5 separate regions of the Homo sapiens genome follow, and regions 1, 2, 3 and 5 are each linked to region 4. The links are contacts of gene promoters, found by promoter capture Hi-C in blood cells and fetal thymus (Javierre and others, 2016). All regions are on one chromosome and are shown on one strand. The core of a region is centred on a gene start or on the middle of the fragment in contact, and the rest is flanking DNA. Distances in the headings are between cores, read along the strand shown.

Region 1 (2,700 bases), core at 160-2,659, 4.6 Mb before region 4:
AAAATGTAAAAAGTCCCAGTAATTGTTTATATTCTTTGTATGTTGAAATGGTAATATTTTGGATATGTTGGGTTAAAAATATATTAAAATGTTATCTGTTTCTTTTTACTTTAATGTGGCTATACAGAATTTTAAAGTACACAAATGGGTCACATTTTGGCTTGTGTTATATTTCTGTTGAACAGTGTTGCTCTGTTACCTTCTAAAATACATCAGTTTTCAGTGCTTCATTGAAAATTTTACTCTAAAATTTGAACACAGATGAGTAAGAACTGTGTTTTGAAGTCGCTTCTTTTCAGCCAGGGTAAGGAAGAGCAGAGAAGTGCTCTAGCTCATGCTCTCTGTGTTAAACGGAAAATTGTGAATTAGCCAGATTTTTTTTTTGTGTTGATCAAGTGTGCTTCGACTGAGAAATCAACCCCTGTCAGGTTAAGAGAGTGGAGTATTGGCAAATGGAACCTGTATCCAAGACAACATCGGAAGAATGACAGACAGACGCTGCCTCATAGCAGCTGGTTGATTAAGTTTAATTACTTTCCTAGTTTTCTTACAACTTCATGGTTGACTTAAATTATTGCTGCTCTTTTAATTTGCCCTTTTGACTACTCAAAAGAACAAAGTACCTCTTGATAAGAAATCTCTTCAGGCAGTATGGGTTGGTGTTTTATAGTGTGGGGGAAGAATATATATAAAGGCATTTGTTTGTGGCAAAAGCATTTTTCCTAAATTTTTCAAATTGCTGAGAAAAGATTATTCGTAAATGTGCCAGAAAATTTTTTAAATAGACCAATAAAAATGTTCCTGTGATTCTTGATATAGAAACCAGGAATGGAGAAGCTATTTGTCTGGTGACAGAAGGGTTGACCAGATAATCTGAAGTCCTTGCCTATTTGTTGTACGATTTGGTTGCTATCACCTCAAATCTAAAGGCTCAGGCTAACAAATGAAAATGCAGTAGAGAGCACTCTCATTGTAGTCTTAAGATGAGTTTCTGGGACCTGAGCTACTGTGACACAATTATGGGTGAATTTGCAGTGGTTAGTAGACACTTTGGGGTCTAAACAGAAACATATGACCCCAGGTAATGAGGTTGGTGTCACCTCTTTGAATAGGTATTTTGTGTTTGGTTGAGTTTTTTGAAATCATATGTTTATACTGTAAGATTAAATTTTAAAATGCTTCCTGTTATATAGAAATTATATCTCCTGGAACTATTAGTTTGTTACTGGTTTGATATTTTTACTAGTTGTTTATTATAGGGTAATTGACAAACAGCATTTAAGTGATAACATCTTTTTTTTTTTTTTGTCATTTCAGAAAATTCCTTGACATACTCCAAGAATAAGGTAGGATAACATAAAGGTGGTAACTCTAGAAAACTTAACGTGGACATATTTTTTCTTAAAAAAAAAAAAGTGCCCTGCTAGAAGAGTGTTTTCTATAGTGAGCATTGAGTGAAATTTTCCCCGTTTAGAGGTAATATTCTGTTTTCAAACATTTCTCTATATATGTGTTTTTCGTGTGTATTTCAAAGAAAATACTTGAATAATTTGTCCTGTCCTGAGGTTTTATTTGTTTATTTTGCTTTAAGAGTTGATAGCTTTTAGGAAAGCAGGGCCTTAGGAGGAAAGTCGTCTTTTAGACTGTGTCCTCAGGATAGATTATATGAGAGAAAAGCAACTTAGGATAGAGAAAACCCTGGGTTGTGTACCTTTTGAGCTAAAATAAGTCATAATTCATGCTATGTATTAGTCAGCTTTTGCTGTGTAACAAACTATAATAAAATCTCAGGGGCATAAAACGATACGTTGTTTCTTGCTCATATGTCTATGGGTCAGCTGGAGAAGCCTTACTTCAAGCTGGGGCCAAGTTCCTGTCTATTCCATTTGTCTCATCTGGGACTCAGGTAGGGGGTTAACAGGTATCTGGTGAATGTTTTCACCATGGATAACTAAAGGCCCAACTACACAAATATATTTTAAGTCTCTTTGTGTCATGTCTGTTAGCAACCTGTTAGTTAAAACAAGTTACATGGCCAAGCCCAAGTCAAGGGGTGGAGAAATATGATATGCCCACCGTAAGGCTATGGTAGGGAGTAGGTTGTATAATTCAATTACAAGGTAATGAAGAATTGGGACCAATAATTCAGTCTACCACATGCTGTTACTTCCCTATTGTAGTTCACAATTTTGTCTACATGTAGATTATTTGGTGTGGCAAGGATAGAATACGGGTCATCTAGACCATTGTTTGAAATCCCATAATAGAACACAACCAGTATTAAACAATAATAGGAATAGAACAGAAAATATTTAGAAACCATTGGTCATAATATGGTTAAATATATTTTAGGAATTTTTTATACTATTATAATTATTTTAAATATTTCTGTGTACATCTGTGTGTATTTTGGACATCCACATGAATGTTTGTTATTGATCATGATGTAAAATGTGGCTCAAGGTCAAAAATGTTGATTTGCTACTGTCTAGTATTATGAATCGTGCCAGAAATAAAATAGACCTTCTTGAGAGTTGCAAGCATATCTGTTATGTTCTGAAGAGTAACCTTTAAAATAGGTACTTTAATGATTTAGTTGTACTCTTTAAGAATGGTCTATTTAAGAATAACTCATATATATAAGTGAATATTTGGGGGAAGAGTCCAGAGTTACACTCCTTTGTTCAGAATTGTTAGAGA
Region 2 (2,700 bases), core at 130-2,629, 3.3 Mb after region 4:
CAACCAAGTGTTGGAGCTGCAATTTGATCGCAAGTCTCTCTCTATACAGTTTCTCAATCTTGGCACATTGACATTTTGGGCCTGATAATTCTTAGTTGTGGAGGTCAATAATGCATTGCTAAGGCGTTTAGCAGTATCCCTAACCCCTACCCACTAGATGCCAGTAGCATTCCACCTCCCCAGTTGTGACAACTGAAAATGTCTCCAGACATTACCAAATGCCCATGGGGGGCAAAATCACCCTTGGCTGACAACCACCACTGTAAAGAAACATATCTTAAAGGAAATTAACTCACTCACAGTAAAATTTTATTTTTACATTTTAGTATTTTAAAACTCCTAAAATCTGTATTATGCATTTTTCAAACATTTCAAAGTCTGTAAACAATCTATGGCCCAAAAAAAGTCCTGATCTAAAAGATGCTGTTTCTGCCATTCTATACACAAGTTTTATTTTTGGCCTCTCATCCTTTCCCCTCTTTGTCACTATCTCCACCCTGCCTACCTTCCCTTCATTTAAAAAAAAACAAAAAACACGAAGTCCTTTTGTTACAGAATATGTATTAACATTGAAAAATAATGCTACTAAATAAATTTGCATTAGATAAATCTTAGCTGGACTCATAAATAAATTTGCATTAGATAGCACAAAGCCCTATGAAGAAATTTAATGTCCAAATTGTCCAAGTATTATAATTACCTCTTACTTTTCTGTGTTTTTACACTAGAGTTTACCTTCTCAAAGGGCAGAAATGATCAATTTCACTACAGTATCCCAAGTGGATACATTGAAAAAATTTTCAACTATTATAATATCAATGCTCAATTTCCAAACATTAAAATCTACCAATTATGTAGTATGTTTTCACTTAAAGAACATCCTATGAATTCCTAATCAAAAATCAATCACAAAACAGTAGAAAATAAATAAAATTACAAAGGTTGAGGTAGTTATCTATTAATAGTAATTCCAGCCAAAATGTTTGGTGTGGATGAAAGCCAAGTAAAAGCTGATAGAAAACTAAACTAAAAAACAGTGAATTGGGATCCAAATAGCTAAGACTGGCCTTTTATGCTTTACTAAAAAACCATTTAGTCATAGCTATGTATTGAAAAATAGCAGTAAATATTATATGCTGCTTCTATTTCTACCTAAGAATATTTTGTCTTCCCCATACTAAAGATAAATTACTATATAGCTAAGGTATAAATGGTTCAGATCCAAATCCATTAAACAACACAATAAATATGTCTATTTGTATTCAAAACTGAACACTTTCTGCACATCTCTCCCCCCACACACCCCCAAATTCACATTCGCTCTCTTGGCAAACTGCACCACCATCTAACCAGATGCCTGGAAGTTACTCTTGTCTCAACAGCTTTACCTGAAGGCCTTCACTGGCACACTCTGCGTCACTCACATAGCCTCATTCTCTTCCTGGTCATAGTCAAGAGGGCTCTCTGTCCCGTGTCTGAAGGGGACCCCCACCCAGACCCCTCTCCAAAACCCATTCTCCAAATTGTCTTTTGGGAAGGGCGGTCCACTCTTGGCTTTTTTGAAATTTCCCTATATAAATTTGCATATCAAAACCTCTGGGAGATTCTGTTTACTTTTTAATCCAGCATTCCTCAAATAATTTGACCACTCCACCTTTTTCTCAAAGAACATCTACTAAGATTCTGCACTTTTCGGCACTCTGCCCTAAAGCAAGAACCATATCCCACATTTGTGAGGCTACGGAAGACCTGAAGAGAATCTATACTGGAGATGATGGGTACCAAAGACAGTCTTAAAGCCCTGGACAAGGTAGCACCTTACCAGCTAACATCATACAGCTGATCACAACTTTCCAAGTCCTGTTTGGCTAACCTTGAACTCCCTTAATAACATAAAATAGGCTGTGTTTCACCACATTATTGACAGGAGTCTCATTAAGGAATTTGCAAAAGGCTTTGCTGAAATCTAAATTACTTTGTTTAAGGTATTCTCATCTACCAACCTAATGCACCTCTCAACAAAGGAAACAATACAGATTGGCAATAGTCAAACACAAAAGAATACAAGACATCTAGCATCTGCACGGCTTCTACACAAACATTTTTTTAAGATCAGATATTTTTCAAATAGCATTATTGAAATATTTTGAGTCTCCCTAGTATTTTAATTAGTCTTTTCTGTAAACAAATGGGTCCAGTTAGGAATTTATTTACTATGTCATCCAGGAAGCAGAGGTTATCTTTTTGCAACTGGCACAATGACCATGGCTTGAGCAGAATTTCAGTCAACCTGTACTAACTAGTGAATACTGAAAATACTAGTCGATGAATATGATCCTCATAGAACTTAATATCTAGAGGATAAAGAAAAAGTTTATGTTACTAAAGTATAAAATGAAGCAGATAGAGGTATACAAATCTAACTAACAAAAATCAGGCTTGCCTGCCTCACAATGGAAACCATACCAAAGATTCTCTTAGGACAAATGCAAAAAACATTATGAACTTTTAATTTTCATGCAAATGGGCCTCGCCCCAAAACACAAAAAAAAATTCACTAAAGGAAAAGCACTGGTGGAGGTGCTACTTTAAGCCATACATATGCTCTCAAACACAAAAGAAATGCTGTTTTCACAAAGGAAAACCTTAAAGTTTTACGTTTTACAGTCTGTGTTAAATTGCCCTTTTCCATAAAGAAGT
Region 3 (2,739 bases), core at 209-2,708, 4.7 Mb before region 4:
ATTGGAAGTTCTCTATTTCATTATTTATCATTTCTTCCCCCACATAATATATTGCCTTGTACAGTTTTCAATTAGGACTTCCCCCATTCTCTAGGAAAAAAAATGTAATTTTGTGCCTTTATTTAGATGAACTATATTATCAATATTCACATAGTCCAGGTCGCATGAATGTTCACCTTATAATCAAATATTTCTATGCAATCTCAGTGGTTTCTATTTGTACTTATAGCCTTTCCTTATTCAGAAGGGGGATTTTTTTTTTTTTTTTTTTTTTTTTTTTTTTTTTTTTTTAGATGGAGTTTCGCTCTTGTTGTCCAGGTTGGAGTGCAATGGCGCCATCTCAGCTCACTACAACCTCCACCTCCTGGGTTCAAGCAGTTCTCCTGCTTCAGCCTCCCAAGTCTGAAAGCTGAAAATAAGCTGAAAGCTGAGTCATGCAAGAGCTGCCTTTTTATGTTTACATTTTAGTTTAAAATTACTTTCTAATTTTTTTGTGTGTGACTTCCCCTGTGACCCATGGTTTGTTTAGAAGTACATAGTTTGATTTCCAACTATTTGGAGATTTACAAATATCTTTCTGTTACTGATTTCTAGTTTAATTTGTGGGTAGAGACAATAATTTTTACTGTTTCAATTATTTTAAATTTGCTGAGATTTGTTTGATGATACACAGTGGAGTCTATTTTGATGAATTTTCCAAGTGCATTGGAAAAGAAAGCATGTTCTTCAGTTATTGGGTGCAATGTTCTACAAATGTCCATTAGGTCAAGTTGGCTGATAGGATTGTTCAGGTCTTCTATATCAATAGTTCAGAAATTTGCCAGCCTTTTTTCAAAATCACCTTCGTAACTTTCAAAAATACTAATGCCTGTATCTCACTCCTTAAGACTGTAATTTATTCTGAGGTGTGGTCTGTTCACTAGAATAATTAAAAGATTCCCAGGTGATTCTAATATACTGAAAAGTTTGGGACCTGAGTTCTGTATACTTAAATTATCTGTATAGTTGTTTTACAAATTGCAGAGCAGGGAGTAATGAACTGTTTGAATTCAATTAATTTTTGATTCATTTCTATTTTGTAGCACTGTGGTTAGGATTTTGTGTCTTCTTGATGAATATGCCCCTTTATCTAATTGTTTTAATGTTATTTTACCTAATTATTAGTGAAGGTAAACATTTTTTAAAAACCTTTCTGGCCGTTCAGTTTTCCTCTTCTGTAAGTGGCCTACTTACGTTATTTGCATATATTTATCTTGAGTTGTCTTTTTCTTACTGATTTGTCTGAATTCTTTTTTTTTTTTTTGAGACGGAGTCTCACCCTGTCGCCCAGGCTGGAGTGCAGTGGCACCATGTCACTGCAAGCTCTGCCTCCTGGGTTCATGCCACTCTCCTGCCTCAGCCTCCCGAGTAGCTGGGACTACAGGCGCCCGCCACCACGCCCAGCTAATTTTTTGTATTTTTAGTAGAGACGGGGTTTCACCGTGTTAGCCAGGATGGTCTCAATCTCCTGACCTCGTGATCCACCCGCCTCGACCTCCCAAAGTGCTGGGATTACAGCCGTGAGCCACCGCGCCTGGCCTGAATTCTTTATATTTTGAGAGTTTTACTATATTCTGCCAACCTGTGGCTTGTTTTTTAACTTGATTAGAGATGGCTTCTCTTCTGTTTGTAAAACTTCCAAATTTTAAAATAATCAATATTTTACATCTTTCCTTAATGAATCGTGCTGTTTCTTCCCTACGGCGATATACAGACATACGCTTTTCTTCTAAAAGTTTAGAGTTTTGTTTGTCACATTTTGGATCATTATTTCATTTGGAATTTAGTTTTATTTCTGTCGTGGTATCAGGATTGAATTTCTTATTTTTATATAAATAGCCAATTTAACTAGAACCACCATAACTTGTGTTTTCTATATCCCACGAACAGTTACTATACTAATTTACACTCCCAACAGTAATGAATAATAGTTTTTTCCCCACAACCTTAGAAACAGTTATTCCTCACCAGACATCTTTATTGTATACCAACTTCCAGGTACCCTTTTTTTCCTAATTTTCTTTTTGTCTATTCTTGTGTCAATACCACTTTTTTAAAAGTTGCTTTAAAATAGAATTACCATATGATTCAGCACAAATTAACACACACTTCTGGGTGTATATCCAAAAGAACTGAAAAGAGGGTCTCAAAGAGACATTTGCACACCCATGTCCATAGCAGTATTATTCACAATAGCCAAAAGGAGGAAGCAACCTAAGCGTCCACTGATAGATGAATAAACAAAATGTGGCATAATACACATAATAAATGATATATAGAACTATTCAGCCTTAAAAAGGAAGTTCTGCAATATGCTATAACATGGATGAACTCTGAGGCATTATGCTAAATGAAATAAGCCAGTCATAAAAGGGCAAATTCTGTATTATTCCACTTAGGTGAGGTACCTAGAGTAGTCAAACTGATAAACACAAAGTAAGATGATTACTGCCAGAGGATGAGGGGAATAGGAAATGGAGAGTTGCTCTTTAATAGGTATACAGTTTTAGTTTGGCAAGATGAAAAGAGAGATTGGTTCTGGAGATTGGTTGGAGAACAATGTGGAATGTATCTTATACTACTGAAGTTAAAAATGGTTAAGATGGTAAATTTTATTCTATGTATATTTCACTACAATTAAAAATATTTAAAAATACTGTTCTAGCAAAAACAAAAGGTTGCTTTTAATAGTTTCTCTTG
Region 4 (2,886 bases), core at 33-2,532:
AAAAGTTTTATTTAAGACCCAGCCCGGTGGCTCACACCTGTAATCCCAGCAGTTTGGGAGGCCAAGGCAGGTGGATTGCTTGAGCCCAGGAGTTCGAGACCAGCCTGGAATATGGTGAAACCCTGTCTCTAAAAAAATTCCAAAAAATCAGCCTGGTGTGGCGGCACACACCTGTAGTCCCAGGGGGGCTGAGACAGGAGGATCACCTGAACTGGGAGGCGGAGGTTGCAGTGAGCCGAGATCGTGCTACTGCACTCCAGCCTGCGTAACAGAGCAAGACACTGTCCCAAAAAGCACAAAAATAAGAAAAAAATGTTAAAAGTTCACTTACATATGCTCTTACCATAGAAGATAAGGTCAGGAAAATGGCTTCAAGATTTTGAAGTGAATAACTGGCCCATTCTAAAAAGGTTGACCTCATCTTTCACATCTTTTGTTAATTTTACTAAGTCTATTCATATGTGAAAAAACACTTCAATACTGGATCGTGAACAATATGTAAAACTGCTTTGGTAGCGCAGTTACTGCTACTGAACATTGTTATATATGCTATTCAAAATAGGTGCAATAGTTCTGCATACCGTTTCCTTGACACCTCCCATTGTATCCGAAGTTGTTCTTTAATCGGCACACAAGCACTTGATACTTACTAAATAACGGCAGACACAACGGACTGTAAACTTTGGCAAGGCCTGAGGCTTAAACGCTCAATAAGTAATTTACTGAATGAATAAACAGATGAATAGGTTCAGTTATGAACTAGTTGTCACTTGCCTGCAAGTTAGGTGAGATCTAGGGCGAGACTATTCAACCTGCAACCATCATTACTAACTGAATGTCCTGTTACCTAAAAAAAGATAGAAATAAAGCCCATCTTTAGGGCAGAATTCAACTGCCGGACTTGGGACTGGACGCCACCAAGTGGATAAAATATGGAGCTCGGAAAAGATTGGATTCCCGGCCCTGAACTGACCACACAGTTGAGAGGAAGTTGAGGCCTAGAAGAGCGCGCAACAGTAAGCCGTGTCGGCACCAGACTCTGTTGGTCCTACTGACACCTCCAGCGTTAGAATGACTAAGGCTCCACTCCTGACCCACCGGCCTTGAGGAAAGCGCAAACGTAAAAAAAGATTGAAACCGGAGAGGCGAATGCATCTGTTTACGCTAGGACCACGCTCGACGTCGGAGAAAAGCCCACACACTCACAGTTTCCAGACCTGGCTGCTTGCCGAAACTCAGATTCTCGGCACCTCCAGCAGCTGGCTTCGCCAACGGCGTTGAACAAGGGTCGCAGCTCAATGACGTCATATCTCCCTACCTACCTCCAGGGTTCCGCCTCACGCTCTATGTCGCGCGCGCGCACTACGTCCTATGGCTTGCGCGTGCGGCGGCTGGGCACCGCCATTTTGGCCGGTGGCCGTGAGAACACGCTGTGTGGCTGAAAAGTGAAGGCAAGAGCTGATTTGGCCTCTGTGCTCCCCTCCGCAAGGGGATCGTTTTCTCCAGGTACGTGAATAGCCCGGAGAGGTTTGGCCGTTAGCTGCCATCTGCCAGGTTGGAAAGAATGTAGGGACGTTCTCCGAGAGCCTTTGGTTAGGCCTTAGGTGGCGGAGACAGCAGCAGCGCGTGGCAGCGGTTCCTGCGGGACAGCTGGAACTGATGGAGCGCGGGCGACGCCGAGAGCTTGGGGGCGCCTCGGTCTTCCCCTCCAGCCGACCCGGCTGTCGCCGCTGTTGCCTGCCACACCCGCGAGGGACTTCGAGAATGGACCTAGATGCCGTAGTCTCCACTCCCCCTTTACCCCACTCCCGCCCTGAAGCTAAACCTGCTGGAGAGGAAGGCACCTTTAGAACTTACAGCACTCTCTAGTACCCCCACACTCCTCCAGCACCCAAAATGGATATATTGTCACATGTGCATATTTGGTTGTGGGAAGTCGTGGCTTCCACGTTTTGTTGAGTGGAATGAGTCATGGCATCTTGCCGCCATGAAGTCGAATACTCGCTGTCCACTCCCAGGCTTTATAGAAATGATGCCCACATGTCACTCTGCTTTTCTCAGAACAGCGTGTACGCAGCTATGACTGGGGTTGTCCCAAGTAGTTTCCCAGTAGAAATCCTATAGTTTTTTTGGTACGCTTTTGTAGCACTAGGCACTTTCTCCCCTTACCCGTTTTTCCTTTTATTGTATCTAATACTCATTGAGATCAAGGTTGATGTCTTTACTCAGAATACCTTTATTATCTCTTCAGGGCTTCGTACATTGTAGGCATTTAATACGTATTGTGAATGAATGACAGCCAAAGCCGAATTCCCACCTCCCATTAACTACATAAGCTTATTTTCTCTTTTTTGATGGTAAAAATCTATAAGAGGAAGAACTGTCCAAATAACATGTTTTATTTTTTTACTCTTTCCCAACAGGACTGCTAACTAGTCATTTATGATAGTGGCATTTATGTTGCAGTAGTTTGTCCCATATTCTGAGAATATTCATTGTATACCAGCCACCTGACACTAATACTTTGTTAGTGTAACCAAAGGCTCAGAACCTGTATTTGAACCAAAAGCTGTTTGGGGTTTGTGAGCTTTTTGAGAACTTAGTTCTCCCCTATTTTAAAAAAGGGAGTTTTTTTGTTTGTTTGTTTGTTGGAAGAGCATCTAACAATTGGGAGAGAGGGGGAGAAAACAATATTAAGTTAGAGTTCTTCTAAATGTCTTAAACTTAAAACTCTTTGAAATCAGAGCCGTGTACCACTCCTAACTTCTACGTGTTTTGTAAGACTAATAAACTACAATAAGCATGGGTTAGACTATTTCATGTGATACTAAACATCATTAGTTAACAGCAGTCTTTGAAATGCTTTTACACAGCGTTACAATTATT
Region 5 (2,700 bases), core at 157-2,656, 3.9 Mb before region 4:
TGTAAGCAGTAAATACTGATTCAATTTCATTAGTTTTTAAATTATTTCCTCAGGAACTTGGGCTGGATAAAAGGAGGAATTCGTGAGTACTGGTATGTATTCCTTTGCAAGACTAACAGTGCAAATGTTTTTCTTCATTAGGGAAAACAAAGTGCATGATGAAGTCTTCAGACTGTGTCATAAAGCATGCTGGTGTATACAGTACTGGCCTTGCAATGGTGGTAAGCTTCTTATTATCTCTTAGACTAGTACGTTTTCAAGGATAAGAAAATGTCATTCTGATCAGTGGTTATTTTTTTCTAAATATCATTGCTTTGTCCCTTGTTTCAATCAATCTGTAGTTATCTGGATTATGAGTGGCATGCTTTTTGTATGATTTTCCCTTAGTACCCACTTGTTTCTAGCTGCTTCTTTCTTTCTTATTAGGGAACATACAAGGCATGGAAACTTTTCATGCTGATCTAAACAGAATTTCATTTCTCAGTGGTACCTTTTTTTTTTTAAATTTTATTATTATTATTATACTTTAAGTTTTAGGGTACATGTGCACAACATGCAGGTTTGTTACATATGTATACATGTGCCATGTTGGTGTGGTGCACCCATTAACTCGTCATTTAGCATTAGGTATATCTCCTAATGCTATCCCTCCCCCATCCCCCCACCCCACAACAGTCCCCGGTTTGTGGTGTGTGATGTTCCCCTTCCTGTGTCCATGTGTTCTCATTGTTCAGTTCCCACCTATGAGTGAGAACATGCGGTGTTTGGTTTTTTGTCCTTGCGATAGTTTGCTAAGAATGATGGATTCCAGCTTCATCCGTGTCTCTACAAAGGACATGAACTCATCATTTTTTATGGCTGTATAGTATTCCATGGTGTATATGTGCCACATTTTCTTAATCCAGTCTATCATTGTTGGACATTTGGGTTGGTTCCAAGTCTTTGCTATTGTGAATAGTGCCACAATAAACATACGTGTGCATTTGTCTTTATAGCAGCATGATTTATAATCCTTTGGGTATATACTCAGTGGTACCTTTCTAATATCTCTTAACCAGACTTCACAAAACAGTATTTAGTGTACCGAAAGCCCTGCTTAACCAACGTTTAAGCCTTTGGTTAAATAAGCAACTTAGTTCCAAACGAACCTAGGATAATAGTGTTCTTTAAAACTTTACATTTCAAAAAAGTGTATATATTTAACATACCTCTTCATTACATATAGGATTTTTTAAAGTAAATTCAGCTTTTTGAATAATAAAACCAACTGGATTATGTGATGTATTTTGCTCTTTTTCCTGAAACATGTTTTCCTTCTAAATATGAGTTAACCAGTTTTACTGTATTGCAGTATGATTTTATGTTCAAATAAAATTTTGTTCAAATTTTAATCTATGAGGAAAATGATACTATATTTATGTCAAATGGAATATTTTATTTATGGTAAATTTCCAAGAACATGTAAACTTCTATTATGAGGGAGACCTATGATATATTTCATATGTGCATATATTATAGAAGCAAGGAGCGAGAATTATCATCTTGTGAATTGCTCTTTATTTTAAGTATAGGATTGTCAAGTTATCTTTATTCAAAAACACTTTCAGTCTTCCTTGGTAGCTTAAGTTCAGCCAAATTCATTTTTTAAAATCACTGTTTTTTGAATGTGAATAATTTCTTCTTACATAAAGAAAACATTTAAGTAGAGTCATATATCTTTAGTTGTAAATTCTAGAAAAGTGATTTTCTGGATATCTTCTATTTGCCTCCCCAGATTCCCCCTGAGAATAGCAGGAGAATAAGATCTGGGTGTTTATTCCTTCATCTCACTCCGTACCAGGTTATCCTGGTTTGGTTTTATCCTTTCTCTAAGGACCACAGTTCTCCCTATATGGCCAGGTAGTCCTCTCCTGTTTGTCCTAAGAACTTCCCTGTCCTCTGCAAATTATCTCTTTAAAACTCTTCTAGATTACCTAGTTTGAGAGTACCATCTCTTTTTTGCAAGAACCCTGGCTGATCCAAGAGATATAGTTGATGATTTGCTAGCTATACTGATAACCCATTTTTGCAAGTCAAAAAACATTCTTCCTATTTGTTGTTTACTACATTTGTTTCAGAGCCTTGAATAATAGAATACTGAATTGAGATTCTGAAATCCTGGCTTTAAATCTCACCTCACCTGTAATCCAACTCGGGACTTGGATTTAGTCTTGGGCCCCATGCTTTTCCTTTATAAAGGAAAGATTGTCTGATCCTACTCTCTTAAGATTCTTTCTAGCTTTTAATATTTGGTAGGTGTCAATGTTTTATTGAAACATATTGTTATTGTCTTTTCTTGATATAGAATTGGAGAATCTTACCCTGTATTTTAGTTCCATATATTTTACTTCAAATTTTTTCCACAAAGAAATGTAATTATTATTAAAACATAAGTTGTCATAAGAGAAAAAAAGAAGCTGGCAGAAGTTTCGTATTTCTCAGTAATTCTAGAAAAGCTATGCAAATATATAGATAAGAAGGTATTTTAAAAATCAGAAATGGTAGTATTTAAAAATTCAGTGTAGTTACAGGAATTATTATAGACAAGAAAGCTTAAGCTGTTGGTTCCTTCAAACTTTATTTGAATTAAATTCATTTTGAGGAAAATACTTCCATCTCTTTGGCTTAATTAAATAATATTAGGATAAGTGTACAGTTTAC

Evidence for each region. The method cuts DNA at HindIII sites, captures the fragments that hold promoters and counts their contacts. A CHiCAGO score of 5 or more calls a contact.
Region 1: a contact is called between a fragment that was not itself captured here and the fragment with the promoter of ANAPC10 in region 4, in 2 of 17 cell types (total CD4 T cells and naive CD8 T cells). The highest score is 8.7, in total CD4 T cells.
Region 2: a fragment that was not itself captured here is called in contact with the fragment with the promoter of ANAPC10 in region 4 in 1 of 17 cell types (non-activated CD4 T cells); the score reaches 5.0 in non-activated CD4 T cells.
Region 3: a fragment that was not itself captured here is called in contact with the fragment with the promoter of ANAPC10 in region 4 in 1 of 17 cell types (total CD4 T cells); the score reaches 5.9 in total CD4 T cells.
Region 5: a fragment that was not itself captured here is called in contact with the fragment with the promoter of ANAPC10 in region 4 in 2 of 17 cell types (non-activated CD4 T cells and total CD4 T cells); the score reaches 5.8 in non-activated CD4 T cells.

The regions. Positions count from the first base shown.
Region 1 is chr4:140,526,149-140,528,848 of GRCh38, forward strand. ELMOD2 (ELMO domain containing 2) reads left to right here. Exons shown (of 9, transcript NM_153702.4): 3 at 1,318-1,346. Among named protein-coding and RNA genes, the nearest start is that of ELMOD2, 3.3 kb to the left of the region's middle. The HindIII fragment of the contact is 4,334 bases long and covers 1-2,700 here.
Region 2 is chr4:148,438,088-148,440,787 of GRCh38, forward strand. The region is part of intron 1 of NR3C2 (nuclear receptor subfamily 3 group C member 2); the gene reads right to left. Among named protein-coding and RNA genes, the nearest start is that of NR3C2, 3.0 kb to the right of the region's middle. The HindIII fragment of the contact is 2,969 bases long and covers 1-2,700 here.
Region 3 is chr4:140,369,606-140,372,344 of GRCh38, forward strand. All of the region lies in intron 1 of SCOC-AS1 (SCOC antisense RNA 1), which reads right to left. It also overlaps a transcript of SCOC not described here. Among named protein-coding and RNA genes, the nearest start is that of SCOC-AS1, 2.4 kb to the right of the region's middle. The HindIII fragment of the contact is 4,110 bases long and covers 1-2,739 here.
Region 4 is chr4:145,096,914-145,099,799 of GRCh38, forward strand. It overlaps ANAPC10 (anaphase promoting complex subunit 10), which reads right to left and starts at 1,283. Exons shown (of 5, transcript NM_001256706.2): 1 at 1,207-1,283. ABCE1 (ATP binding cassette subfamily E member 1) reads left to right here and starts at 1,398. Exons shown (of 18, transcript NM_002940.3): 1 at 1,398-1,506. RefSeq lists enhancers at 538-1,409, 657-1,856, 990-1,039, 1,120-1,379, 1,410-2,281 and 1 more. The HindIII fragment of the contact is 4,584 bases long and covers 1-2,334 here.
Region 5 is chr4:141,226,626-141,229,325 of GRCh38, forward strand. ZNF330 (zinc finger protein 330) reads left to right here. Exons shown (of 10, transcript NM_014487.6): 5 at 142-221. Among named protein-coding and RNA genes, the nearest start is that of ZNF330, 7.1 kb to the left of the region's middle. The HindIII fragment of the contact is 2,365 bases long and covers 225-2,589 here.